Regions from separate parts of the Homo sapiens genome. Here all the other regions are linked to region 1. Evidence: promoter capture Hi-C in 16 types of primary human blood cells and fetal thymus (Javierre and others, 2016). All regions are on one chromosome and are shown on one strand. Each heading gives the region's core, a stretch centred on a gene start or on the middle of the fragment in contact. The rest is flanking DNA. Distances are from core to core; before and after follow the strand shown.

Region 1 (3,576 bases), core at 531-3,030:
AAATGAAACAGAAAATGTTTAATATTTCCAACACGTAACCTGCTTGTTTAAAGCAGCTAAACCTAAGGTTAGTTAAATTTTTAGTAGAGAACACCTATGAGCTCTGAAAGAAAAATGTCAGCTCCTTAATCTTTAAGATCATGCATCTACAGGACTGGAAGAAAAAAAGTTACCTTCTTTTTCTCGATGTTTCTAATTTTGTGTTTAAGGCATATGAGTCCATTTTCAATATAGGTCTCATACGCTTGGGAAGGAGATGCAGCAGAACTCAGAGTAGACTGCAGGGGGCTCAAGGCCCGCTGGCTTTCCCCATGCTGACTGTGGTTCACTTGGGGCTTGGCTGACTTCATATTCCCCTCTCTTTCCTCCTCTGAATGGCCTGAAGGTGACTGGTAACCAAAAGGGGATGAAAAGAGTTGCACCATTGAAACAGATGAGGCTGAAGGAGGTGGGGGAAAGTTAAGTATAAAATTAGGACTAGAGGGACACAGCCAGGCAATAACTTCCCTGGAAAGTCTAGACCACTCCCTTAAACTCTTTTCCACAGAAGTGAGCTCGAAACCCAATGATGCTTGAGATACTTGTACTTCCATCCTACTTTTAAAGTAATTAGTGCCGCTAGCCAATAAGGATAGCCTTTACATAGGCAAAATCTCCCAATACGGAGGATGTTTCCAGAAATTCGATTTTCCACATAGGGAGGAAGAACTGCAACGGCTTCAGAGCTCCTTTCTTCTCATGAGGGCAGATCACATTCTAAATAATTCCCATGGCCACGTGATGACACCAAAAGAATAAGCTTTCCACACCGGGACCTAAGGCTGAGCCACTCAAACCTCTTTACATGATCCCTCACCACCAGCCCTAACCTCAATCCTGAACGTTTGGAAGAAAATCCAAACTCACAACATTCTTTTATAGCTCTAAGTGAACCAGCAGCTTCTTGAACAAGAATGCTAACTTCCCCGATTGCTCTGGGGCCTACAAGGCAATCCATCACTACTGGACATTTGCAGACAGGTACTCTCTCAACCTGCAGGAACCCCGCGTTTATTCTCAGTTGTTTGGTTTAGACTAGCCCAAAACCGCTTACACCCAACCAGTTTAAGAGCTCATTCTAGCGAGCCCTTCCCGTGCCCTAATCAGTGGCCCTTGCGCACTTACGTATCCGTCTCTCGACCTCCAAGCACCCGAGGTATCCCTTTCTCCCCCCTTAGGAGCATCCCCAAACCAAGGACAGAACAGGCCCCATGCACGCCAGCGCGCACCCCCTCAAGTCTCCGGGGGAGCCTGAGCGAAGAGCACCTCTCCCGAGCGGCCACGGAGAGCCCTGCAGGCACCGACCCCCACCCTTCCCACAGCCGCCCCGGGTACGCAGAAGCCGCTTCTGCAAGGCCCCGGGGGAGGCTGACCTGCGGAAAACGCACCGACCGCGGCCCTCGGGAGCCCCGCCCCGCCCCGGGGATGCCAAGCCGCCCCTCCACCTCGCAGCGGCGCCGGCCGCCCAGACCTGCCCACCCTCGCCGGGTCAGCCGCCTCCCTCCGCCGCGCCGACCGAGGCCGCCGCAGCCCGACTTCACCTCCCCAGGCAGCCGAGGCCGCCGCTGCCGCAGCCCGGGCCCGCCTTCCAAAGCCTGGGGGAGGCAGGAGCGCTGCGGAGGTGGACCGGCGCCACCCCGCACTCGCGTCTCCTCCTCCTGTCTCCTCCCTCTCCCCTCCCGGTCCTCGCCCGCGGCCTCTGCGGCGCCAGAGACCCAGCCGACTCAGCCGCTCGCGCCCAGGCCCGCCCACCGCGCCGCGCGTGGCTTTTGTAGGCCGCGCCCCGCCCCGGCCCGCTCCGCCCTCGGCCGCCCCGCCACCGCCTCCTTCCGGTGCTCCTTCCCGGCTGCAGCTGGCCGCCAGCGCTTGTCGGGTGTTAGTTCCGGGCCCAGCTTGGGCTGGTGGTAGGTCGGGAGAGGGCGCGGTCTCCCAGCCTTTGCGCAGATTGCGGGGCACCAGGTGGGGCCGAGGCGACGCCGAACGCCGGCAGGCCGGAAACCGCGCAGCCCCGCTGGACCTCGCTGATTGCCGGCGGCACCGGTGGTTTCGCGACCTTGAACAGGTGACTCCAATAGCTCCAGGAGGGCAGCGAGCCCTTCGCGGAACTACCAGATAAGCCATGCTTGAGGCTGTCGTAGCCTAGTGGGTAGTCGTGAAATGCAGATGCGCCTTTGCCCCTCAGATAGCATCTTTCATAGTAGGATGGGGAAAAAACACCGTTTCCTTACCGGGGAATCAGCCTGTAAGAGCAGAATGCCCCAAATCAGCATCGCCATAAAAACGGAGTAGGTGACTTCGCAACCTGCAATAATAGGATTGAGTTTATTCAAGCCGTATTATTTGTTCATGTGACACACATTAATTGACTGGCACGCAGAGAAAGCTGTAAAAAATCTTTGTAAGGTTACATAAAATTAAGAGAAAAGTCTGGAAATATGTAAAAGTTTATTGAGGAAAGGAAGGTGTTTCTGATACCAAATAAGAAACACACACACACACTCAGCAATACTTTGCCCCAACATGTGTTTACTTATTACACCAAGTGGAGTTTTTTAGGTCCTGATTGTCCCTGACGCTCTGATAAAAAATATTGAGACTAGCAAAAGAACAGAAAATTCAGAAGAAGAATCAAGGAAACAAAGGTCTAGTTTTAAAAGCCTTGGTCAACTTCACACAAATTAATTTTAACATTACTTAATACATTTTTTTGGCATCTATTATCCGTGTTCTTTTCGGTCCCTGGTGACATAATGTACCCTAATGTTGCATTTTAACTTTGAATCTCTGAATCCCATATGTGTTCTTCAGGGTCAGAGAAATACTAGATTTTCCCTTTTTCTCATTGTTTATAAACAGAGAAACGCAGAAGATGCTGAACATGAGGAGAGGAAGGCTATGCCTTCACCTTTGGTAACACAAAAAACAGTGGCCATAAGAAAAAATGTGAAGGACACACTGTTGGATCAATGAGTTGACACAAAGTTACAGCACAGCCTGAGTTGTAGTCCGAGCTAATGATGAACCTAAAAATGGTATTTCAGTCAGATTAATCATGAAATGTTTGCCCCCTGCCGGCGCAGTGGCTCAAGCCTGTGATCCCAGCACTTTGGGAGGCCGAGGCGGGGTGGATCACCTGAGGTCGGGAGTTCGAGGCCAGGCTGGCCAGCGTGGTGAATATCCATCTCTACTAAAAATACAAAAATTAGCCGAGCATGGCGGCATGTGCCTGTAATCATGGCTACTCAGAGGCTAAGGCAGGAGAATCGCTTGAAACCCGGAGACGGACGCTGCAGTGAGCCGAGATTGTGCCGCTGCACTCCAGCCTGGGTGACAGAGCAAGACTCTATCTCAAAAAAAGAAAGAAAGAAAGAAATGTTTGCCTTCTAATCGGTCAGGCAAAAAGGAGGCCGTAAATTTTAAATTTTCTACTAAATGGATATTCTTCTAAATGAATAAATCCATACAGATTTACTTCTCAGGAAGGATTATAAAAATGCATCACGAAAGAATGCAAAAGCAAAAATAATTGAATTTCAA
Region 2 (3,576 bases), core at 655-3,154, 2.0 Mb after region 1:
CCTCAAGGCAACAGGGATGCCATTGCCTTGATTTTTCAGATATGGAAATAGTTCTGGAGAATTAATTTGCCTCATGTTTGAAGAGCTGAACTCAGTCTTGATTCCAAATCCTTTAAGTTTGACCTGAAAACTTTCCTTACCTGGATACTTTTTGATATTCTCATATGATTGCATATTTGGTATAATTGGCTTTATTTTTGGGGGGTTAACTTTTTAATTTACCTCAAGTTGCAATCTGCTTGGGGGGAAAAGCTGAAACTTAAAACCAATTTAAGTTTCTAAATTTATAAAACATTGCTACCTTAGGAATCCACTGACAACAAGGCTTAATGTGAACAGAATTATACTGGAACACAGGCAAGGAACCAGAAAACTGAATTAGAAACTTTCTGAAAAGTCACGTACTGATTTTTGTACTATTATTTGTAAAGAAACTACTTACTGTAATTTCTCAAAGCAACCATGGCCTCATCTAACTTTTTCTCCTTTTTAAGAACTACATTTGCTCTCTGAACTACAAAAAAATCAAATTTCTATTCAAAGTTTCTAATACTAGTTTTCCCATTTCTAATGTGGACACTAGAGGCCCTGATGATTTTATAAACAACTATATAACATTAGTGACATCGGTGCTCCATACCTGATAGAAAAGCAGCTACAATTCCTTTTTTTTTTTTTTTTTTTTGAGACAGAGTTTCACTCACTACTCATGCTGTCTCCCAGGCTGGAGTGCAGTGGCGTGATCTCAGCTCACTGCAACCTCCATCTCCTGGGTTCAAGTGATTCTCGCAGCTCAGCCTCTTGAGTAGCTGGGGTTACAGGTGCCTGCAACCACATCTGGCTAATTTTTATATTTTCAGTAGAGACGGGGTTTCGCCCTGTTGGCCAGGCTGGTCTCAAACTCCTGGCCTCAAGCGATTTGCCCACCTTGGCCTCCCGAAGTGCTGGGATTACAGGTGTGAGCCACCATGCCCAGCCTCACAATTCCTTACACTACCTCTTTTTCATTGTTCCTCATCACTACAAAAAGGAGAGCAGGAAGGGTAAGATAGGAAAGCAGCATTTCTTTCTCTTCTGAAGTATAATTTTAAAAAGAGATTAACCCTGAAAATCATGGTTTTCTATGGTAATCAAGCTTTGTACATCAGAAAATAAAACATCCCATTATTAAACAAATATTTATTAACCGGCCCATAAAAATAATGAAGTTACTCACACTGAGTCCTAGTCCATTCTGTTTTTCTGATTTGCATAAGCAAAGGTCTAAGTTCTGGAGCCAACCCTTCAGAGGTCTTGAGAATGAATGATGGGTAAGTTTATTTGGACAACCAGAAGGACTTTTCATCACAACTGAAGCCATTTTATAATGTAGAAATTTCTTTTTCCTATTTTAAGTAAGGAAAGTCCATTCTTGAGAATATGTTGTCCAACAATTAAAACACTCTCAGGATTTGTTACTTGTTGGTGATTTATGCTGACTCCGCCTTCTGTTATCATTCGATACCTAAAAAATAGAAACGTTTAGTAAGTAGAGAGATCCAATCACTGTTGATCTGTCCCCCAAAAAAGACTGTTTCACTTAGATTTCAGAGGCTCTCCAATTGAGAAGATTTCATTTGGCACTGGACTGTTACCTTCATGTTTGCTCTATTATTAATAGATTCTGCCTCTCTTTACTGCTCTTTGTTTTTTGTTGTTTGTTTTTGAAACACATTCTTGCTCTGTAGCCCAGGCTGGCATGATCTCAGCTCACTGCAACCTCCGCCTCCTGTGTTCTAAGTGATTCTCCTGCCTCAGCCTCCAGAGTAGCTGCGATTACAGGTGCATGCCACCACACCTGGCTAATTTTGTATTTTTAGTAGAGATGGGTTTCGCCATGTTAGCCAGGCTGGTCTCAAACTCCCAACCTCAAGTGATCCACCTGCCTTGGCCTCCCAAAGTGCTGGGATTACAGGTGTGAACCACTGTGTCTGGCCGGAATTTACGCCTTGCAATCTGCTCTTTTAAAGACTCCGTCTCAAGAAAAAAAAAGAAAGACCTAGGAGAAGTTGTTCTAGGAGCACACTGGGTAGGTGAGGGCTGAACATTTCACTGAAAAAAGAGATACTTAAACTGGGAGTGAAGCTACCTTGACAATCAGGGCAGGAAACATGGGAGCAGCTAGAAAGAGGTGAGATCTGAGAAGACAGGGCTACAGCGTGGCTAGATCTTGGAAGTCCTTAAGAAAGAAAAATGGTGGTTTTCTCTCATCTGAATGTTACCAAATAAAATTAAGAAACCACTACTGGACATGGTTTTAAAGATATTTTTATACCTTTATTTTTGGGTAGAGACGGAGTCTCACTACGTCCTTGCCCACACAGATCTTGAACTCCTGGCCCCAAGCAATCCTCCCGCCCTCAGCCTCCCGAAGTGCTGGGATTACAAATGTGAGCCACCATACCTGGCCATGGACATGGTTTTATAAAACTCATCAGTAAAATATTTTCTACTTAAGGCCAGATTCCTTTCTTTTAGGAAGTATTATTTTACGCTGTCTGCTAGTTTCCAGATCATGTTCTATGTTTAATTTAAATGCACCAAACCTATTTAGCTTATATAATATTAAAAAAAAAAATCAGTATTACTTAGAGCCCTGGCTAAATCAGATGTGGTGTCATTTTTAGTAGTGGTAAAGCTTCCAGTATTAGCGAACACACTATAGTAAAGTTCAGAAGAAAACGAAATCTGCTTCCATAGTGAGGAAAATTATTTGTCTCGCTGACATACTACAGGGAAGTATATGACACCAGCCTCAAATTCACTGTGTGTTAAACCAGCAGATGAGGGAATCACTAAGGTGGAGTGGCAGGTGATGCAAAGGGAGACAATGGGTGCTTTTTCCAGGCAGAATAGTCTAGGACTCTTTAGGACACAGGCAAACAATCCAAGACAGTTGAAAGAGAACAACTATAACAAATGTCATTCATAATCATGGCCATGATATGGCCGATAACCATTTGACTTCTGTGTGAACTCCTGCAAAAGAGGCACCTGGGGGTCTTCTGGCTACCCAACACTTTTCCTTCCACCTCACTGTTCATTTAAAAATGGATAAGCATCAATTATATGCTGAATTATTTTTTGTGAAAAACCTTATTTACTCCTTAATACCTCATAACTGATTAATTAAAATATTCTACTCAATTCCTGAATAGAAAATGCAATTCTCAAGGGGATTATTATATAGTTTACAATAATAGTCTTATGACGTTAGTAGGTTAGTGCAAAAGTACTTGCGGTTTTGGCCATTATATGCTCATTTCATTTTCAGAAATTCAGTTAATACTATAGATAGGTTAGGTAACCTTTCCCATCCCCGAATATAAAAAGGATACAGACTATGAGAGGGGCTGTGTTAATCTGTTACATAGGGCCTCTGTTTCTGCATCCCTCTAAAACTGTGACCATATCCCTAAGCCGTACACTGATGCCAGTGTATTTACTGAACATGTCCCTCAAATGCACTTTTCCAGTGTTGGAGGAAAGACTGACTGGGTTAGATATAATAAGAGACAGTATAGGAGTACTGTACTA
Region 3 (3,576 bases), core at 276-2,775, 1.9 Mb after region 1:
AGGTTGGCCAATCTAATGATGGGCCCTTAAACACAGAGAAGCTTTTCTGGGGGTCAGAGGCCTGATGACAGCAGAAGAGTTAAAGAGATGCGACATTGCTGGCTTTGAAGAGGTTGGAAGGAGGTAACCAGCAAGGAATGCAGGGGGCCCCTAACAAAGGCAAGGAGGTGAATTCCCTGCTAGAGGCTTTAGGAGGGTTTGCAGCCCTGGTGACACCTTGATTTTAGTCCAGTGAGACCTGTGTGAGACTACTGAACTATAGAACTGTAAAACAATACTTTTTTTTTTTTTTTGACATGGAGTCTCACTGTGTTGCCCAGGCTGGAGTGCAGTGGCGTGATCTTGGCTCACTGCAAGCTCTGCCTCCCAGGTTCACGCCATTCTCCTGCCTCGGCCTCCCGGGTAGCTGGGACTACAGGTACCCGCCACCACGCCCGGTTAATTTTTTGTATTTTTACTAGAGACAGGGCTTCACCATGTTAGCCAGGATGGTCTCAATCTCCTGAACTCGTGATCCGCCCGCCTCGGCCTCCCAAAGTGCTGGGATTACAGAAGTGAGCCATTGCGCCTGGCCACATTTTTGTTGTTTTAAGCCACTAAAATTGTGGTAATTTGTTAAGGCAGCAATAGGGAACTAATATACTAGAGAAGCAAGGCAGAAACCAGGTTCCTAGGTTTCAGTTCCTCCCCAGTTCTCTCTGCCTCATCTGCTGTGAGACAGCTTGCTGAATGAGATCCCCTACACCCTCCCCCACAGCACACTCACCTCATTCCACAGGAGTAAACTGCGTGAGAGAATGAAATAGACGATGTAGTGATAAGATGTAGAGCTCTGATTCTGCCTGAGCTCCTAGTTCCAGTCATTTTTTTTTTTGAGGTGGAGTGTCACTGTGTCACCCAGGCTGGAATGCGGTGACGTGATTTTGGCTCACTGAAACTTCCGCCTCCCGGGTTCAAGCAATTCTCCTGCCTCAGCCTCCCGAGTGGCTGGGATTACAGGCTCTCACCACCACCCCCAGCTAATTTTTGTGTTTTTAGTAGAGACGAGGTTTCACCATGTTGGCCAGGCTGGTCTTGAACTCCTGACCCCAACTGATCCACCCATCTCGGCCTCCCAAAGTGCTTGGATTACAGGCTAGAGCCACTGCGCCCAGACATTCAGTCATTTTTGAGGCAAGTTAGCTCAGAATTAAATTTCTGTCCTTACAATTAGCTATCCTGCCTAAATCATAAAGCTATGGTGAGAGAGGGATGGTTGCAGGAGAAGAGGTGTTTTTTGTTGTTGTTGTTTTTTTTTTTTGAGATAGAGTCTCACTCTGTTGCCCAGGCTGTAGTGCAGTGGCGCGATCTTGGCTTGCTGCAACCTCTGCCTCCCAGGTTCAAACAATTCTCCTGCCTCAGCCTCCCCAGTAGCTAGGACTACAGGCGCGTGCCAGCACGCCTGGCTAATTTTTTGTATTTTTAGTAGAGACGGGGTTTCACCGTGTTAGCCAGGATGGTCTCCATCTCCTGACCTCGTGATCCACCCACTTCGGCCTCCCAAAGTGCTGGGATTACAGGTGTGAGGCACCGCACCTGGCCGAGAAGAGGTTTTTTTAAAGGCCTTTTGATATCCGATAATGGTTTAATGTGATTCCCACAGGAAGCCACTGAAGAACACATTATTCTTAGATGCACAAAGACTCTTTTTTGTGGGAAATCCATTTAGCCACTTATTAGTTAAATTGATTTCCCACAAACAAGAGTGTTCTGAACTTAAAACATGAAAGCCGAAATTGGTTTTTTTTCTTCTTTTTTTTTTTTTTTAGTTGGAGTTTTGCTCTTGCCGCCCAGGCTGGAGTGCAGTGGCGCGATCTCGGCTCACTGCAACCTCTGCCTCCCGGGTTCAAGCGATTCTCCTGCCTCAGCCTCCCGAGTAGCTGGGATTACAGGCACGCGCCACACCAGGCTAATTTTTTTTTTGTATTCTTAGTAGAGATGGGGTTTCACCATGTTTGTCAGGCTGGTCTTGAACTCCTGACCTCAGGTGACCCGCCCACCTCGGCCTTCCAAAGTGCTGGGATTACAGGCGTGAGCCACCGGGCCTGGCTCTTTTTTTTTTTTTTTTTTTTTGAGACGGAGTTTTGCTCCTGTTGCCAAGGCTGGAATGCAATGGTGCAATCTCGGCTCACCGCAACCTCTGCCTCCCGGGTTCAAGCAATTCTCCTGCCTCAGCCTCCCGAGTAGCTGGGATTACAGGCGTGCACCATCACGCCCAGCTAATTTTTGTATTTTTAGTAGAGATGGGGTTTCTCCATGTTGGTCAGGCTGGTCTTGAACTCCCGACATCAGGTGATATGCCCACCTTGGCCTCCTGAAGTACTGGGATTACAGGCATGAGCCACCGTGCCCGGCCTTCTGTTTTCTTTAGAAGAAAACAAAAGCTCCATCAACAGAGGGGTGAGAAGCAAAGTGGGTAATATCTGACTATTATGTAATATTATCTTTGGTAGAAAGTCAAGAGACTTGGAATAAAACTGTTTTTTGGAGTTCTGAAATTTTTGTCTTATTTTATCTCTGAAAAATTTTTTTTTTGAAAATAATCAAAGAGGAGATGTTCACAAAACCTGTCAAGATGCCAAAACACCACTAATGGATCTTTAGGTCTTGGCTTACTTCATCCATTTGTTCACAGATATTTATTAAGCACCTGCCATTTGTCCTGCTGAACAAATCAAGCATGTTCCCCGCAGCCATTGTGTACAGCTAAGCAGGTGAATGGCACCCACTGGAGTTGCGTAGTGCACAACTTCCACTACTGCTGGTGGTTCTTGTCCTCATGGAGATTAAATTTAGTAACTTCTAGGAAGTCTTTCTCGAATCTCTATCCTCTTGCTCAGACTGGAAAAAGTGCTCTTATTATGTTTTCTTTTCTCTTTTCTCTTTTTTTTTTTTTGACACAGGGCCTCACTCTGTCACTTAGGCTGGAGTGCGGTGGCACGATCACAGTTCACTGCAGTCCCCACCTCCCAAGCTTAGGTGATCCTCCTACTGCAGCCTCCCAAGTAGTTGGGGCCACAGGTATGCACCACCACGACAGGCAAGCTAATTTTTTTGTATTTTTTGTAGAGACTGGGTTTTGCCGTGTTGCCCAGGCTGGCCTTGAACTCCTGACCTCAAGTGATCTGCCCGTCTCCTGCCTCAGCCTCCTGAGTAGCTGGGATTACAGGAATGCACCACCACGCCCGGTTAATTTTTGTATTTTTAGTAGAGACGGGGTTTCTCCATGTTGGTCAGGCTGGTCTTGAACTCCTGACCTCAAGTGATCCGCCTGCCTTGGCCTCCCAAAGTGCTGGAATTACAGGCGTGAGCCACGGTGCCTGGCCTCTCCTCACCTGCTTTAATTCTTTACTCAAATGTCACCTTTTTACTTTGAGGTTTACTTTTACCTTTGGAGGTTTGGAGTAGAGGAGGGATACTATCTGTCTAAAAAGAAAAACAACATTTAGAAATATAACAGTATGGGCCGGGCATGGTGGCTCAGGCCTGTAATCCCAGGACTGTGGGAGGCCAAGATGGGCGGATCACTTGAGGTCA
Region 4 (3,576 bases), core at 486-2,985, 1.7 Mb before region 1:
ACCAAATAATATGGTTTTGAATTGCTTCAAAGGAAAAAAGCAGATGTAAAATCAGTGAATCATGTGAGCCATTGATATCAATTAGCTAAACCATGCCGAGGTGATCCCTGTTAGCAGTTAAGTTCTTCCTTTCCCCAGGACTACAATGCTCTGCAGAAAGGTGCCCTTAGGTTTAAAAGTGACACTGGTTGACATACTCAGAAAGCCTTCTGTTCAAATTCTACCTCTTGAAGAGCCTTTCCAATTGTGAGATCATTTGGACAATTTTGGACCATGCAGGATTCAAACATGAATGTCATATTAAGCTCAAGAATATATTTATGATTCCATACTTTCACCTACCTTGGAGTGATTTCTGTTGCACTCACTGAAATATCAGAGTAAGCTCAATATCAGATATTGATATAATATCAATACATAATATCAATATCAAGCTAAATATCAAAGTTAACTAACCACCATTAATCACCCAAAGCATAGATCAAATGCAAACCCATTATAGAAAAAAGAGAATGAGGAACAGTGTGTGTCCTTTTGGTCAGGAGTGTGCTAACACAGGAATAGATAGGATCCTAAAATGCAACAATCAATGGCAAGTGGTCTTTTTAATTTAGTGGGCAACCAGAGGTGACATGATTTGATGCCTTTCTGTCAGATGAAAAGAGCAAGAGTTTCTCTATGTTTTTTCATTTAAAAAATATTATGTCATAGATTTGAGGCTTACCTGTATTCAGCAAGAAGTAGAGGAGAAATTCCATGTGTATGTTAAAAATATAGCTGCAAAATTCTGCAATAAATATCTCTTCTATCATCCTTTTCAGGTCAAATATTATGATCCTTTGTGACAGCAAGATTTCAGGAAAGAGAATAAAATGTCAGAGAATGTAAATCTTTTATGATGACTGTGATGGTTAATTTTATGTGTCAACTTCAGTGGGCCATAGGATGCCTGGATATTTAGTTAAACACTATTCTGGGTGTATCTGTGAAGGTGTTTGCATGAGATTAATCGGTAGACTGAGTATAGCAGAGTATACTCCCTAATGAGGGAAGACCTTATCCCATCAACTGAAGGCCTGCATAGAAGAAAAGGCTGACCCGCCCCCAATAAGAGAGCATTCTTTCTGCCTGACTGCCTTAAACTGGGATGTAAGCTTTTTCCTGCTTTCAGAGTTGAACTGAAAAATCAGCTCTTCCTGGGTGTCTAGCCTGCCAGCCTTAACACTGAAATTGTATCATTAGCTCTCCTAGGTCTCCAGCTTCCTGAGTCACCCTGCAGACCTTGGGACTTAGCCTCCATAATTTCATGAGCTGCTCCTCATAATAAATTCCTTACATATATGCACACACATCCTATTGGTTCTGTTCTCTGAAGAACCCTGACTAATACAATGCTTGAGGGGATTTTTCTCAAGCATGAATAACTTTTGTTTCTCTTTCCTTCTTTTCTTCCTTTCTCCAAGCAGAATACAGATATTTACAGTTATCCCAAATACATTCATTGAATAGGTGACTGGATTTCTGATGACTACTTTATTTTTTATTACATTTCTGTATGCACTTGGGCATATCTGGGTTTTCTGTTCTAGCTCGTTAACCTGCCTACTCTCATGCCCATACCAATCTCTCTCCTTTTTAGTAATTTTTTAAAATTATAGTACCACTCTCTTTTAATTATTGGGATTTCATGAGTTTTAACATATGGTGTGTCCCCTACCCTTAACCTTTATTGCTATTTTTTGTCAGCTTTCTACTGGATGTTCTTTTGGAAAAAAAAATTCATTTTTAAATTGAGGTAAAATTTATGTATAGTGAATTACATAGCTCTTAAATGTAGTTCAATGAGTCTTGCCAATTTTCCATGCCCATTTCTACATACAATGTTGTATTTTGTTTTATTTGTTCTGTTTTGAGAAGTGATGTATTTATGATGTTAAATATTCCTATACAAGTATAAGGTACATTGTTTTCCATGCGATCAAGTGTTTTTTCTGTGTTATTGTATGGAAGGTCACCAGCTGAGCATCCGTACTGTGTGAGGACACAAAATAAACTCTATTAAGTTAAGCACCTTAAGTTTGGAGGTTGTTTGTTACAGCAGTTAGCCCATACCAACCAATACAACTAGATTTAACACCAGGCTTGGTTTGTACTTTGCTGTTTTATCATGGTTGTGTTATATTTGTTGACAAGTTCCTGGTATAGTGAGTGCTCTTAATATTCAAATGTACAATTTGTTAGTGTAAGTGAATTACTACAAAGCGCCACTAGGTGTCCTCTAGCAATAATTTTCCCTGGCCTGCTGAAAGACTGACTGAAGCTTTATTTTTTCCCTTGGCTGTACTGCTGAATTGGTCCCCAGGACTCCACCCTCCTGCCATCACTGCTAACATACCAGAAAAATGAGAACCTTTTGTTGTTTTTAAGAACGTAGTTAAGTATATCATTCTTCTTAAGAACAAAAGTGTAGACTTTATCATGTTATAAAGAACCCACTATCAGAGACACATTTGTGATTTTTCTGAAAGTTGCTCAAGAACAGATTTGGAAGAGACAATTTATACTGTATACCTCTCCCATTTCTCTCCTATCTATTCTTTAGCATTCTAACACAGCAGAAAAATGGTCAAACAACATCAAGGCCAGCCAGTCCTGGAGGAGAGCAGTAATTGCGATAATTATTATGTTGGTGCAAAAGTAATCGCGGTTTCTGCCATTAAAAGTAATGGCACCAACCTAATACAAAGAGGTGGCATCTTAGAAAAGGCAGTGGGCAGGCCGGGCATGGTGGCTCATGCCTGTAATCCCAGCACTTTGGGAGGCCAAGGAGGGCGGATCACCTGAGGTCGGGAGTTCAAGACCAGCCCGACCAACATGGTGAAACCCCATCTCTACTAAAAATACAAAATTAGCCGGCTGTGGTGGCGCATGCCTGTAATCCCAGCTACTCGGGAGGCTGAGGCAGGAGAATCGCTTGAACCCGGGAGGTGGAGGTTGTGGTGAGCCGAGATCAGGCCATTGCACTCCAGCCTGGGTGACAAGAGCGAAACTCTGTCTCAACAAAAAACAAAGCAAAACAAAACAAACAAACAAAAAAAACAGAAATGGCAGTGGGCACTGAGAGAGAGGGATGAGCTTGAAAGGTATAGAAGAGATAAAATATACAAGACGTGACAACCATTAGGTGTTGTAAGTATGAAAGAGAAAGAAGTCCGGAAAATCTCCAGCATTCCCGGATCAAGGCAACAGGGGCATGGTGGTTCTTCTGACTGAGATAAGAAAAACTGAAGAAGGAAAAGGCTTGTGGTACAAGGCAGAAAGGAATATGTTTACATTTTTTAACATGTTAGTTTTGATGTGTCTGGGGGACATCCAAGTGAACATCTCAAATTGACTGAAAGAATTCTGAAGATTTTTGGTTAAAGAAAGGGAAGTAGAAGATGTTTTACTCTTCTCCACTCCCTCAAACTCCACCAAAAGCAAACAAAAAAAGTAGAGGAAAAATAATCTATCTTCAGTGAGACCTGGAACAGGACACAACCACAAGCCACAAACTAGGAGGCATATCTGCCAAGC
Region 5 (3,576 bases), core at 502-3,001, 1.7 Mb before region 1:
ATCTAGAAGAAATGGAATGATTCCTGGACACCTACCCCCTCCTAAGACTAAACCAGGAAGAAGTTGAATCTCTGAATAGACCAATAACAGGCTCTGAAATTGAGGCAATAGTTAATAGCCTACCAACTAAAAAAAGTCCAGAACCAGAAATATTCACAGCCAAATTCTACCAGAGTTACAAAGAGGAGCTGGTACCATTCCTTCTGAAACTCTTCCAATCAATAGAAAAAGAGGAAATCCTCCCTAACTCATTTTATCAGGCCAGCATCATCCTGATACCAAAGCCTGGCAGAGACACAACAAAAAAAGAGAATTTTAGACCAATATCCCTGATGAACATCGATGCAAAAATCCTCAATAAAATACTGGCAAATCGAATCCAGCAGCACATCAAAACGCTTATCCACCATGATCAAGTCAGCTTCATCCCTGGGATGCAAGGCTGGTTTAACTTATGCAAATCAATAAACATAATCCATCACATAAACAGAACCAATGACAAAAACCACATGATTATCTCAATAGATGCAGAAAAGGCCTTTGACGAAATTCTACAGCCCTTCATTCTAAAAACTCTCAATAAACTAGGTATTGGTGGAATGTATCTCAAAATAATAAGAGTTATTTACGACAAACCCACAGCCAATATCATACTGAATGGGCAAAAACTGCAAGCATTCCCTTTGAAAACTGGCACAAGACTGGGAGGCCCACTCTCACCACTCCTATTCAACATAGTGTGGAAGTTCTGGCCAGGGCAATCAGGCAAGAGAAAGAAACAAAGGGTATTCAATCAGGAAAAGAGGAAGTCAAACTGTCCCTGTTTGCAGATGACATGACTGTATATTTAGAAAACCCCATCATCTCAGCCCCAAATCTCCTTGAGCTGATAAGCAACTTCAGCAAAGTCTCAGGATAAAAAATCAATGTGCAAAAATCACAAGTATACCTATATACCAATGACAGACAAATGGAGAGCCAAATCATGAGTAAACACCCATTCATAATTGCTACAAAGAGAATAAAATACCTAGGAATCCAACTTACAAGGGATGTGAATGATCTCTTTAAAGAGAACTACAAACCACTGCTCAAAGAGGATGCAAACAAATGGAAGGACATTCCATGCTCACGGTTAGGAAGAATCAATATCGTGAAAATGGCCACACTGCCCAAGGTAATTTATACATTCAATGCCATCCCCATCAAGCTGCCAATGACTTTCTTCACAGAATTGGAAAAAACTACTTTAAAGTTCATATGGAACCAAAAAAGAGCCCACATTGCCAAGGCAATCCTAAGCCAAAAGAGCAAAGCTGGAGACATCATGCTACCTGACTTCAAACTATACCACAAGGCTACAGTAAACAAAACAGCATCGTACTGGTACCAAAACAGAGAGATAAACCAATGGAACAGAACACAGGTCTCAGAAATAACACCACACGTCTACAACCATCTGATCTTTGACAAACCTGACAAAAACAAGAAATGCGGAAAGGATTCCCTATTTAATAAATGGTGCTGGGAAAACTGGCTAGCTATATGTAGAAAGCTGAAATTGGATCCCTTCCTTACACCTTATACAAAAATTAATTCAAGATGGATTAAAGACTTAAATGTTTGACCTAAAACCATAAAAACCCTAGAAGAAAGCCTAGGCAATACCATTCAGGACATAGGCATGGGCAAGGACTTCATGACTAAAACACCAAAAGCAATGGCAACAAAAGCCAAAATAGACAAATGGGATCTAATAAAACTAAAGAGCTTCTGCACAGCAAAAGAAACGACCATCATAGTGAACAGGCAACCTATAGAATGGGAGAAAATTTTTGCAATCTACCCATCTGACAAAGGGCTAATATCCAGAATCTACAAAGAACTTAAACTAATTTACAAGAAAAAAAAAACAACCCTATCAAAAAGTGGGCAAAGGATATGAACAGACACTTCTCAAAAGAAGACATTTATGCATCCAACAGACACATGAAAAAATGCTCATCATCACTGGTCATCAGAGAAATACAAATCAAAACCACAATGAGATACCATCTCACTCCAGTTAGAATGGCCATCATTAAAAAATGAGGAATCAACAGATGCTAGAGAGGATGTGGAGAAAGAGGAACACTTTTACACTGTTGGTGGGAATGTAAACTAGTTCAACCATTGTGGAAGACAGCGTGGTGATTCTTCAAGGATCTAGAACTAGAAATACCATTTGACCCAGCGATCCCATTACTGGGTATATATATACCCAAAGGATTATAAATTATGCTACTATAAAGACACATGCACATGTATGTTTATTGCAGCACTATTCACAATAGCAAAAACTTGGAACCAACATATATGTCCATCAATGATAGACTGGATTAAGAAAATGTGGCATATATACACCATGGAATACTAGTCAGCCATAAAAAAGGATAAGTTCATGTCCTTTGCAGGGACATGGATGAAGCTGGAAACCATCACTCCGAGCAAACTATCACAAGGACAGAAAACCAAACACCACATGTTCTCACTCATAGGTGGGAACCGAACAATTTGAACACTTGGACACAGGGCAGGGAACATCACACCTGGGGGCCTGTCATGGAGTTGGGGACAGGAGGAGGGATTGCATTAGGAGAAGTACCTAATGTAAATGATGAGTTAATGGGTGCAGCAAAGCAACATGGCACATGTATACCTATGTAACGAACCTGCACGTTGTGCACATGTACCTTAGAACTTAAAGTATAATTTTAAAAAATTTAATAAAATAATACCTTGAAACAACAACAACAACAAAAAAAAATCCTGTATTATTGAGAGTATGAGAAAAAGGACCCTCTCCATATACTATCGGTGAGATCATTAAAATGTTTCACTTTTTGGGAATTAAATTAAATTTTAATTGTAATTTATTAAATTACATATTTAAAATATGTAAACTCTTTAATCCAGAAATTATACTTCTAAGTATCTTACAGAATTACATACCCATGCAAAAATATATAAAAGGATTTTTATTACTATATAATTTGTGATCAGGAAAAGTTGGAAAATAACCACCCTGAGGTCATGTATCAGAAAACTGAGGGCAGTCTACAATCAGGAATCAGCTGACGCTATTCCAACTAGCTAGTGCTCCACCTGCTTAGCCGCCTTACCCTGCCTCATCCATTCCTTCCCTCGAAAACCACAGTTCCCCTGTCCTCTGCCTGTGACCAACCTCGGTGTTCTCTCCCGCAGCTGTGCAGTGTGACCCCTCCTCTTGGGCACGAGCAGAAATAAACTTTTAAATAGCAATTGTCCGCCAATCTGTGGCTTCATCATACCTGAATAAAAATAGAATCTACATTTTTAAAAAAATCCAGGAAACATTATTAAAAATCTATCAGCACTAACAAGACAATACAATAAGATGGCAGATACAAGATAACTATGTAAATATCAACAGCTCCCAGCACTTTGGAAGGCCGAGGTGGGCGGATCACGAGGTTAGGAGATCGAGACCATCCTGGCTAACACAGTGAAACCCCATCTCTACTAAAAATACAAAAACAATTAGCTGGGCGTGGTGGT
Region 6 (3,576 bases), core at 593-3,092, 1.6 Mb before region 1:
TTCGTGGTCTCACTGACTTCAGGAGTGAAGCCGTGGACCTTCTCAGCAAGTGTCACAGCTCCTAAAGGTGGTGCGGACCCAAAGAGTGAGCAGCAAGATTTATTGCGAAGAGTGAAAGAACAAAGCTCCCAGAGTGTGTGGAACGGGACCCCAGTGGGTTGCAGCTGCTGGCTCCAGTGGCCAGCTTTTATTCCCTTATTTGGCCCCACCCACATCTTGCTGATTGGTCCATTTTACAGAGTGCTGATTGGTCCGTTTTTACAGAGTGCTGATTGGTGCGTTTACAAACCTTTAGCTAGACAGAAAAGTTCTCCAAGTCCCCACCGGACGGAGAAGCCCCTCTGCTTCTCCTCTCAATATGGCCAGGCAGCAAACTCAGTCTTTCATCTCGAAGGAGTCAGGTTGGGCAATGAGATCAATGTGAAGCTTTGGAAACCTGCATGGTACAAGAGACTGTAAACCTCCGAGTGTCTACTAGCGCCAGGGCTCCCTTTGGATAACAGTTGCCCTAGGTGAGTCTTTGTAAAGTTGCAAAGCCTTAGATAATGTGATACTGCCACTTCCATCATGACTGAAGGAACCCGGTTTTGGTGCCCAAAGCTGAAACAACTGTGGATACTGGTGAGAGAGGTCAATTATCAGAGAGGTACTTTGGTACCAAACTCCTCCCTGAAAGTTCTTTTTAATGTGAGACAGTGACAAAATGCCCCTAGTCAGATGTCCTGGAATTAAATTGCACACAAAAAAGGCAACAGGGATTAATGACATTAACCATTCTTATGAAACAATAAAATAACTAGGGCACTTAGGGAGCTATTGTATTTTGATTAGCAATGAGCTATTGATTCAGTTCTCCCTGATGCCTGCTGTAGGTACCCACCGGCCTCGGAAGCCTCAGGACCCAGCCTAACTCCATAGTGCTAAAATAGATTTTGGTGGTTTCTCACTTCTTGGTAATTCTCATAAATCCCCACCATTTCATATAGCTTGGGCAGGTCTCTTCCTTTCACCCTGAAAGACTACAGGTTATGTAAGCACCATTTTACAGGAGAAGTCAGAAGGCCAAAGTCGGAGGGGCAGGTTAGCGTCAGAAACCAGCACAGACAAAATTCATCCAACAATGACTTAAGTCACTTCTCTGTGCCTCATTTTTGTAACCTACAAAATCAGGATAATCATAGTTTTCCCAGACCAAAATGAGAGTCAGGCTGCTATTTCTTGTGGCCCAATGATGAGATGCAGATGAACTGCGGAGGAAGAGAGTTTTTATTTCTCCAACCAGTTACAGGGAGAAGGCCTGGAAATTATCATCAGACCAACTCAAAATTACAAAGTTTTTCAGAGCTTATATACTTTCTAAGTCTATGTGTAAGTGTGCATTCATCAAAAGACATGGGTGATTAACTTCTTTTAATCTATAACTAAGGTCTCAGTCCTAAAGAGCTTCCTCTGGAGCCTCAGTAAATTTACTTAATTAAAATGAGTTCAGATGCTGGGGTGATTACCCTTATCTTGCCTCCTTGTATGATTGTCTCCAAATCACGGAGGTTTGGGGAGTTCCTTCAGACCCCCAATAAACTTGTTTGTAGAGGCCTAGGGACTTTCTACAGACCCACAATAAAACTTGTTTAATCCTACATGGGTCCTGTTAATAATTCCTTCCCAGGAAACAGCCTAGGCAAAATTCTTGGTGGGCTTTTGTTACACCTCAGCCTTTGTATAAGGGCACTGGCTTTTAATATTTAACTTAACCACTCAGTACTGAAACAGTTGTTATGGAGGCCTGCGTTGGTGAGACCTGGCATGCCACAACAGTACCTTCTGTATAGCATTGTTACGAGGATTAAATAAATTAATATATATAATGTCTTTAGAGGCAGGGACAAAGTAAACATTATGTAAGGATCTATTAAAAATAAAACAGGAGTTGGCTTTTTTATTGACTTGTATTGGCCCATTTCCCCCTTTAGAGGAGTCTGAGGTACTGTGTTGTTTCAGACACACATCATAGCTAAAGTTAGCTGATTGCCGACTATACACCTAGACTAGAAAATTGTTCAATTGACCCTATAGTTAGGCTTTCTCAATTTGGTTTATTTAACAGTGATACTCAGGACTGCCAACACATACATTCTGGATTTGGTGAACCTGGACAAAAAACAAGTTGTGCCTCCACTGAATCTTTGCTTCTTAAGATTACCTGTAGGGAGATAAATATCATTCCGGGCTGGTATAGTTTCTAATAAAGACAGCAATCATCAGTTACAGAACATATCTCAAAGTGAAGAAACAACTACAGTTATGTACCACATGACATTTCAATCAACAACATACTGCACATATGATGGTGGTCCCATAAGATTAAAATATCACATTTTTACCGCACTTTTTCTATGTTTAGACATTCAAATACTTACCATTGTGATATAATTGCCTACAGTATTCAGTACAGTAACCTGCTTTATAGGTTTATAACATAAGAGCAATAGGCTATACCATATAGCCTAGGTGTATAGTAGGCTATACCATATAGCCTAGGTGTATAGTAGGCTATTCCATCTAGGTTTGTGTAAGTACACTCCGTGATGTTCACATACACACACAAAAAAATGCATAAAAACACATTTCTCAGAATATATTCCCATCATTAAGTGACACATGACTGTATTAGCAAAATTAATTGCAGTGTGTTTATTGTGTTTTATTACTATAGACTAGTTTTGTGTTTGATAATACATCCTCTTTGATTCTTTTTATAAGCCATGTGGTTTCTGATTCTAAATTATTTCTTCTAATTAATGTATACACAATTTATTTGATACAATTTTTGTTTGATCAGAAAGAAAAAGGAAAAAGTCCATTGAGACATGACTATACTTTATCCACTATGCTATTCACTGTTACTTACATTTTTGTCATTTCATATTCATTGCAAGTTTAGAAAGTTAGCATTATCATTCCCATTTTTAGAGATGAGAAAAGAGAGATAATGAGAGCAAGGGTTAAAAGCAAGCAAGCAAGAGGGAAAGAGAAAAAGATAAATTAGAATTTTTTTACTTCTCTTATAATATTGCATCAAGATCATATTAAATTTGAAAACTTTTTTTTACACATTTTCATAAATTATGAAGTTTAAATTAAAGGTGAAATAACTGAGATAATGTGGTGTTTTGTTTTGCACTTCACATTTATTTTTTGATTCTAGACACTTGTCTTCTATAATCTCCCAGGGAGAATTCACTCAGCCTAACAGTGGTAAAAGCTTGATTTTTGACATCTTTTCCTCCCACTACGCTCAAATTTCTTCAAGAATGAGGGCACAGAATTGCTCTAGAACAAAGATTTAGTGCTGTATTTGAAGATAACTTAATTCTAACCAATTTAGAGCCTATCAATTTAGGGTTAACAGAAGGTCCTTGTAGGACATGTGACTTCTTGTTTAAAAACACTCGGGGCTTTTGATAATGCCACTGTTCTGATACAATCAGAAATTTTACTGAAGCAAACAAAAAGGGGAAAAGGAAAAGTTATCCATTTTTGACCTTTTTTTAACTTTCCAGATTTAGTTGAGTTGTA
Region 7 (3,576 bases), core at 360-2,859, 1.6 Mb before region 1:
CTAGCTAGCTTCATTCATGTAATAAATAATTAGGCCCATTCTGTGACCAGACACTGTGCCAGCTTTTCCACATTTGGTGTTGAACAAAGCAGATGTGTTCCCTATTTTTTTGGAACCTACAGACATTTACAAAATAAACATGTAGGAATACATTGTGGGAAGTAGCGTGGAGAAGAACAGAATGCTGTAAGAAAAAAATCAGGGGCACTGACTCCGTTTTGGTGTTCTGAGAAGGCTTGCTCTTTGACAAAGAAAGATTTCAATTGCTATTGGAAAGAAGCATAGGGGTTAACTTGACTAAAAAAAAAATCAACAAAGAGAAAAAGCAATCTGGGCACAGGAAATTGCAAATGGGAAGGTCTTAAGAGAAAACGCTTGCAGCATTCAGGGGACAGAGAGAAGGCAGGCCTTGTGACTGCACTTAGGTGAGGGCGCTGCTGAGAGGCAGGACACCAGTTGGAGAGGGGAGCAGGTGGCTGGTCATGCCCAAATTCACAGGTGTTGATAAAGATCTTGAATTTAATTTGAGTGGGTTGCCATTGAAGACTTTTAAGCCAGAGACTGTTCTAATTTCTATTTTGAGGAACTCTTTATGTAGACAATAAGGAGAGTGAACTGGAGGGATAAAGGATTGGAGGTAGGAAGACCAGGGAGGACAGAGCGCAGGTGAGAGTACTGTCAGGGAGGAGGGAGAGAAGTGCACAGACTTGAGGTGTGTTTTGAGAGTTGGATTGACATGTCTTGGTGATAGATTGGATATGGGAGGTGGGAGAGGCAGAAAGAAGAGTGGGAATGAATTCATTTAATAGATACTGCTAAATGCTTATAATCCAAAACAGTAGGCTCAGATGCATATGATTTAGAGATGCCGTAAGAAGAACTGAAAAATAAAACAAAAACTGATCGCCCTGGTTATTACCTCTGGAAAAGTATACTGGCTGCTGGGATGGGGTGAGAGAAAGGAGGGAGGAGATTTTTGCTTTTCATACTATCCTCTCTACTGTTTGAATGATTTTTAAAATCATGCTTGCATTTTATAATTTTTTAAAAAGTTATCAGCATGACAGATATAGCTCCTGTCTTTCTGACTTGAGCACATAGATGGAATATGGTGTAATTTCCTAAAATGAGAAAAATTAGGGAAGAAAGATCTGATCCTCTCCGAAATAATTATTCCAAAACATAATTTACTCCCCTGCTTAAAACCCTGTCATTCCTCTGCCTTGTCTATAGCAGTTTTTCCTAAACTGCAGTCTATGAATTATTATTTTCTTGGGATATTAACAGTTAAGTAAAGGAAGAAAAGCTTCCCTGATGATATGACTTTGAGAAACTCTTGATTTAACCTACTTAACCAGTTGTGGTTTTGTTTTTGTTTTTTTTTTTGTTTTGTTTTGTTTTGTTTTGTTTTTTGAGACAGAGTCTCTCTCTCTTGCCCAGGCTGGAGTGCAGTGGTGTGATCTCAGCTCACTGCAAGCTCCGCCTCCCAGGTTCATGCCATCCTCCTGCCTCAGCCTCCTGAGTAGCTGGGACTATAGGCGCCCACCACCACGCCTGGCTAATTTTTGTATTTTTAGTAGAGACGGGGTTTCACCGTGTTAGCCAGGATGGTCTCGATCTCCTGACCTTGTGATCCGCCTGCCTCAAAGTGCTGGGATTACAGGCGTGAGCCACCGCACTGGGCCCCTACTTAACCAGTTTTATTGCAGGAATCCTCAGAGCATGCATGTCCTAATGCATGTTAATAATCAAGAAAAGAGAGATCTTTTATGCTACATTTCCTAAACTTGACGTTGAAATGCTTTTCCAGCAGAACATCTAAGAGAGCCAGCATTCAGCATAACACGCTTTGGGAAATGCTGTCCTATATTAATAGATTAAACCTTTTAACATCTACAGTTCTCTATTAACCATAAGCTTCTCTCATCTCTTTAATCCTACTTAGTTGGTGGAAAGCGGGAGACTGGAATTGACTCTGTTAATAGGCATTAAGTTGATGATGAAAACAACCCTGCTCTGTGGATGATATTCAGAAACAGGATCTGCAGTCTGATTAAAAGCAAAATTGTTTTTCATTTCTACTTCTTTGGCAAGGTTCTGCAGGACCTCATCAAGATACATTTTGTGAAGTCTCTGTTTCATACATGTGACCTGAGGCATAAACAATGGGGAAGACTCCCCAGGGCCTCTTAGGTCCCGTGGTAGGCCTGGGCCTTATCTGATCTTTGTAAGCCATCCCCTGCAGGGCAATACAGTGTGACTACATAGGGCATCTGTAGGAACATTGGTTTTTGAGTCTCATATATCCACTTCCTGGATCCCCATGCATTTGCATGGTGGTAGGCTGGAAGCAGAAATGCAACTTATGGCCAAAGAACAGTGCAGCAGAGCATAATGGAAGAAACAGGTTCACACAGCTGTAGAATTCTTCCTTGGCTTCATCAGCTCTGTGTTCCAGCCCAGGGGTCAGCAGCTTTGGCCCAAGGCTGAAATCTGGCCCCTGCCTTTTTGTTTATTCTTTGAACTAAGAATGGTTCTTATATTTTTAAAACTTAGAAAAAATCAAAAGAATAATATTCTGTGACATGGGAAAAATTATAGGAAATTTAACGTATATGAAATTTAACCTTCAGTGTCTATAAATAAAGTTTTATCAGAAAACAGCTTGTATCATTCGTCTAGTCATCCCTATTGGCTATGACTGCTTTAGTGCCCTAACCAATCAATTATTATGACCTTTAAATCCTAATATATTTACCTTGTGGTCCTTTACAGAAAATGTTTGTTGACCCCTGCTCTAAGGCTATGAAACTCACCTGCCATAGGTAATCTTAATTGTTTTGTTTTTCATTTATTTAATTTATGAGGGGATAGAAATAAAATAGTTAAATTGACTTCCTAGTAGGTCCTCAAACATTATTGGCATTCAGGCACAGAAAGAGAAATACTGCATCATCTCATTTTTAGGTGGAATCTAAACATATTGAACTCATAAATAAAAGTAGAGAGAAGAATGGTGGTTACTAGAGGTTGAAGGCAAAAAGTGGTAGGGGTGCAGGGTGTGGGGAGGTGGGGGGAAGTTACTGGTCAAAGGGTTCAAATTTTCAGTTAGGCAGGAGGCATTCGTTTTGAGATCTACTGCACAGCGGAATGACTATAGTCAATGATAATGTACATTTAAAAATAACTAAGTAAATTTCAAATGTCTCACCAAAAAAAAGATAAGTGATGGCTACTGTATCCTCTGAATGTATGAAATTATAACTTGTAAATTTAAAATAATATTAATTTTAAAAATGAAACAAACTATTTTTGGCATTGGAGTCGTGACAATGCCAGTTTTTGTTGATGGCTGGTGTTGCTAACGCTACATGCCCATGTAAAGAGCAGAAGACAGTCGCAAAGGTGATCACTTGTAAATTTTATTCAAACATTTGAACTCATATATACAGGATAGGCACTCAGATAAATAAAACTACGGCATCCAGAGGTAAGGGGGAAATTAAATCTAATATAACTTAACTGTTTTATTTTATTACCTCTGAGCAGATTGGATTTCCTATGAGTAGTCGCCTC

What was found. The method cuts DNA at HindIII sites, captures the fragments that hold promoters and counts their contacts. A CHiCAGO score of 5 or more calls a contact.
Region 2: a fragment that was not itself captured here is called in contact with the fragment with the promoter of CAPRIN2 in region 1 in 6 of 17 cell types (activated CD4 T cells, naive CD8 T cells, total CD4 T cells and 3 more); the score reaches 9.0 in activated CD4 T cells.
Region 3: a contact is called between a fragment that was not itself captured here and the fragment with the promoter of CAPRIN2 in region 1, in 3 of 17 cell types (non-activated CD4 T cells, naive B cells and total B cells). The highest score is 9.0, in non-activated CD4 T cells.
Region 4: a contact is called between a fragment that was not itself captured here and the fragment with the promoter of CAPRIN2 in region 1, in 8 of 17 cell types (monocytes, total CD4 T cells, activated CD4 T cells and 5 more). The highest score is 10.9, in monocytes.
Region 5: a contact is called between a fragment that was not itself captured here and the fragment with the promoter of CAPRIN2 in region 1, in 2 of 17 cell types (non-activated CD4 T cells and total CD4 T cells). The highest score is 6.9, in non-activated CD4 T cells.
Region 6: a contact is called between a fragment that was not itself captured here and the fragment with the promoter of CAPRIN2 in region 1, in 1 of 17 cell types (neutrophils). The highest score is 5.3, in neutrophils.
Region 7: a fragment that was not itself captured here is called in contact with the fragment with the promoter of CAPRIN2 in region 1 in 1 of 17 cell types (erythroblasts); the score reaches 8.6 in erythroblasts.

What each region holds. Positions count from the first base shown.
Region 1 is chr12:30,753,171-30,756,746 of GRCh38, forward strand. CAPRIN2 (caprin family member 2) reads right to left here and starts at 1,781. Exons shown (of 19, transcript NM_001385503.1): 1 at 1,581-1,781; 2 at 174-389. The coding sequence starts at 350. LOC645485 (a long non-coding RNA gene) reads left to right here and starts at 1,904. Exons shown (of 2, transcript NR_135046.1): 1 at 1,904-2,101. RefSeq lists enhancers at 1,155-1,234, 1,238-1,407 and silencers at 1,335-2,014, 3,106-3,309. The HindIII fragment of the contact is 2,894 bases long and covers 798-3,576 here.
Region 2 is chr12:32,745,860-32,749,435 of GRCh38, forward strand. YARS2 (tyrosyl-tRNA synthetase 2) reads right to left here. Exons shown (of 5, transcript NM_001040436.3): 5 at 685-1,504. The coding sequence ends at 1,345. Among named protein-coding and RNA genes, the nearest start is that of YARS2, 8.2 kb to the right of the region's middle. The HindIII fragment of the contact is 1,542 bases long and covers 1,134-2,675 here.
Region 3 is chr12:32,674,257-32,677,832 of GRCh38, forward strand. No RefSeq gene overlaps it. Among named protein-coding and RNA genes, the nearest start is that of DNM1L, 3.3 kb to the right of the region's middle. RefSeq lists an enhancer at 1-1,137. The HindIII fragment of the contact is 2,972 bases long and covers 40-3,011 here.
Region 4 is chr12:29,071,555-29,075,130 of GRCh38, forward strand. No RefSeq gene overlaps it. Among named protein-coding and RNA genes, the nearest start is that of FAR2, 76 kb to the right of the region's middle. The HindIII fragment of the contact is 1,166 bases long and covers 1,153-2,318 here.
Region 5 is chr12:29,095,558-29,099,133 of GRCh38, forward strand. No RefSeq gene overlaps it. Among named protein-coding and RNA genes, the nearest start is that of FAR2, 52 kb to the right of the region's middle. The HindIII fragment of the contact is 8,335 bases long and covers 1-3,576 here.
Region 6 is chr12:29,114,903-29,118,478 of GRCh38, forward strand. No RefSeq gene overlaps it. Among named protein-coding and RNA genes, the nearest start is that of FAR2, 33 kb to the right of the region's middle. The HindIII fragment of the contact is 2,836 bases long and covers 425-3,260 here.
Region 7 is chr12:29,153,040-29,156,615 of GRCh38, forward strand. All of the region lies in intron 1 of FAR2 (fatty acyl-CoA reductase 2), which reads left to right. Among named protein-coding and RNA genes, the nearest start is that of FAR2, 5.6 kb to the left of the region's middle. The HindIII fragment of the contact is 611 bases long and covers 1,305-1,915 here.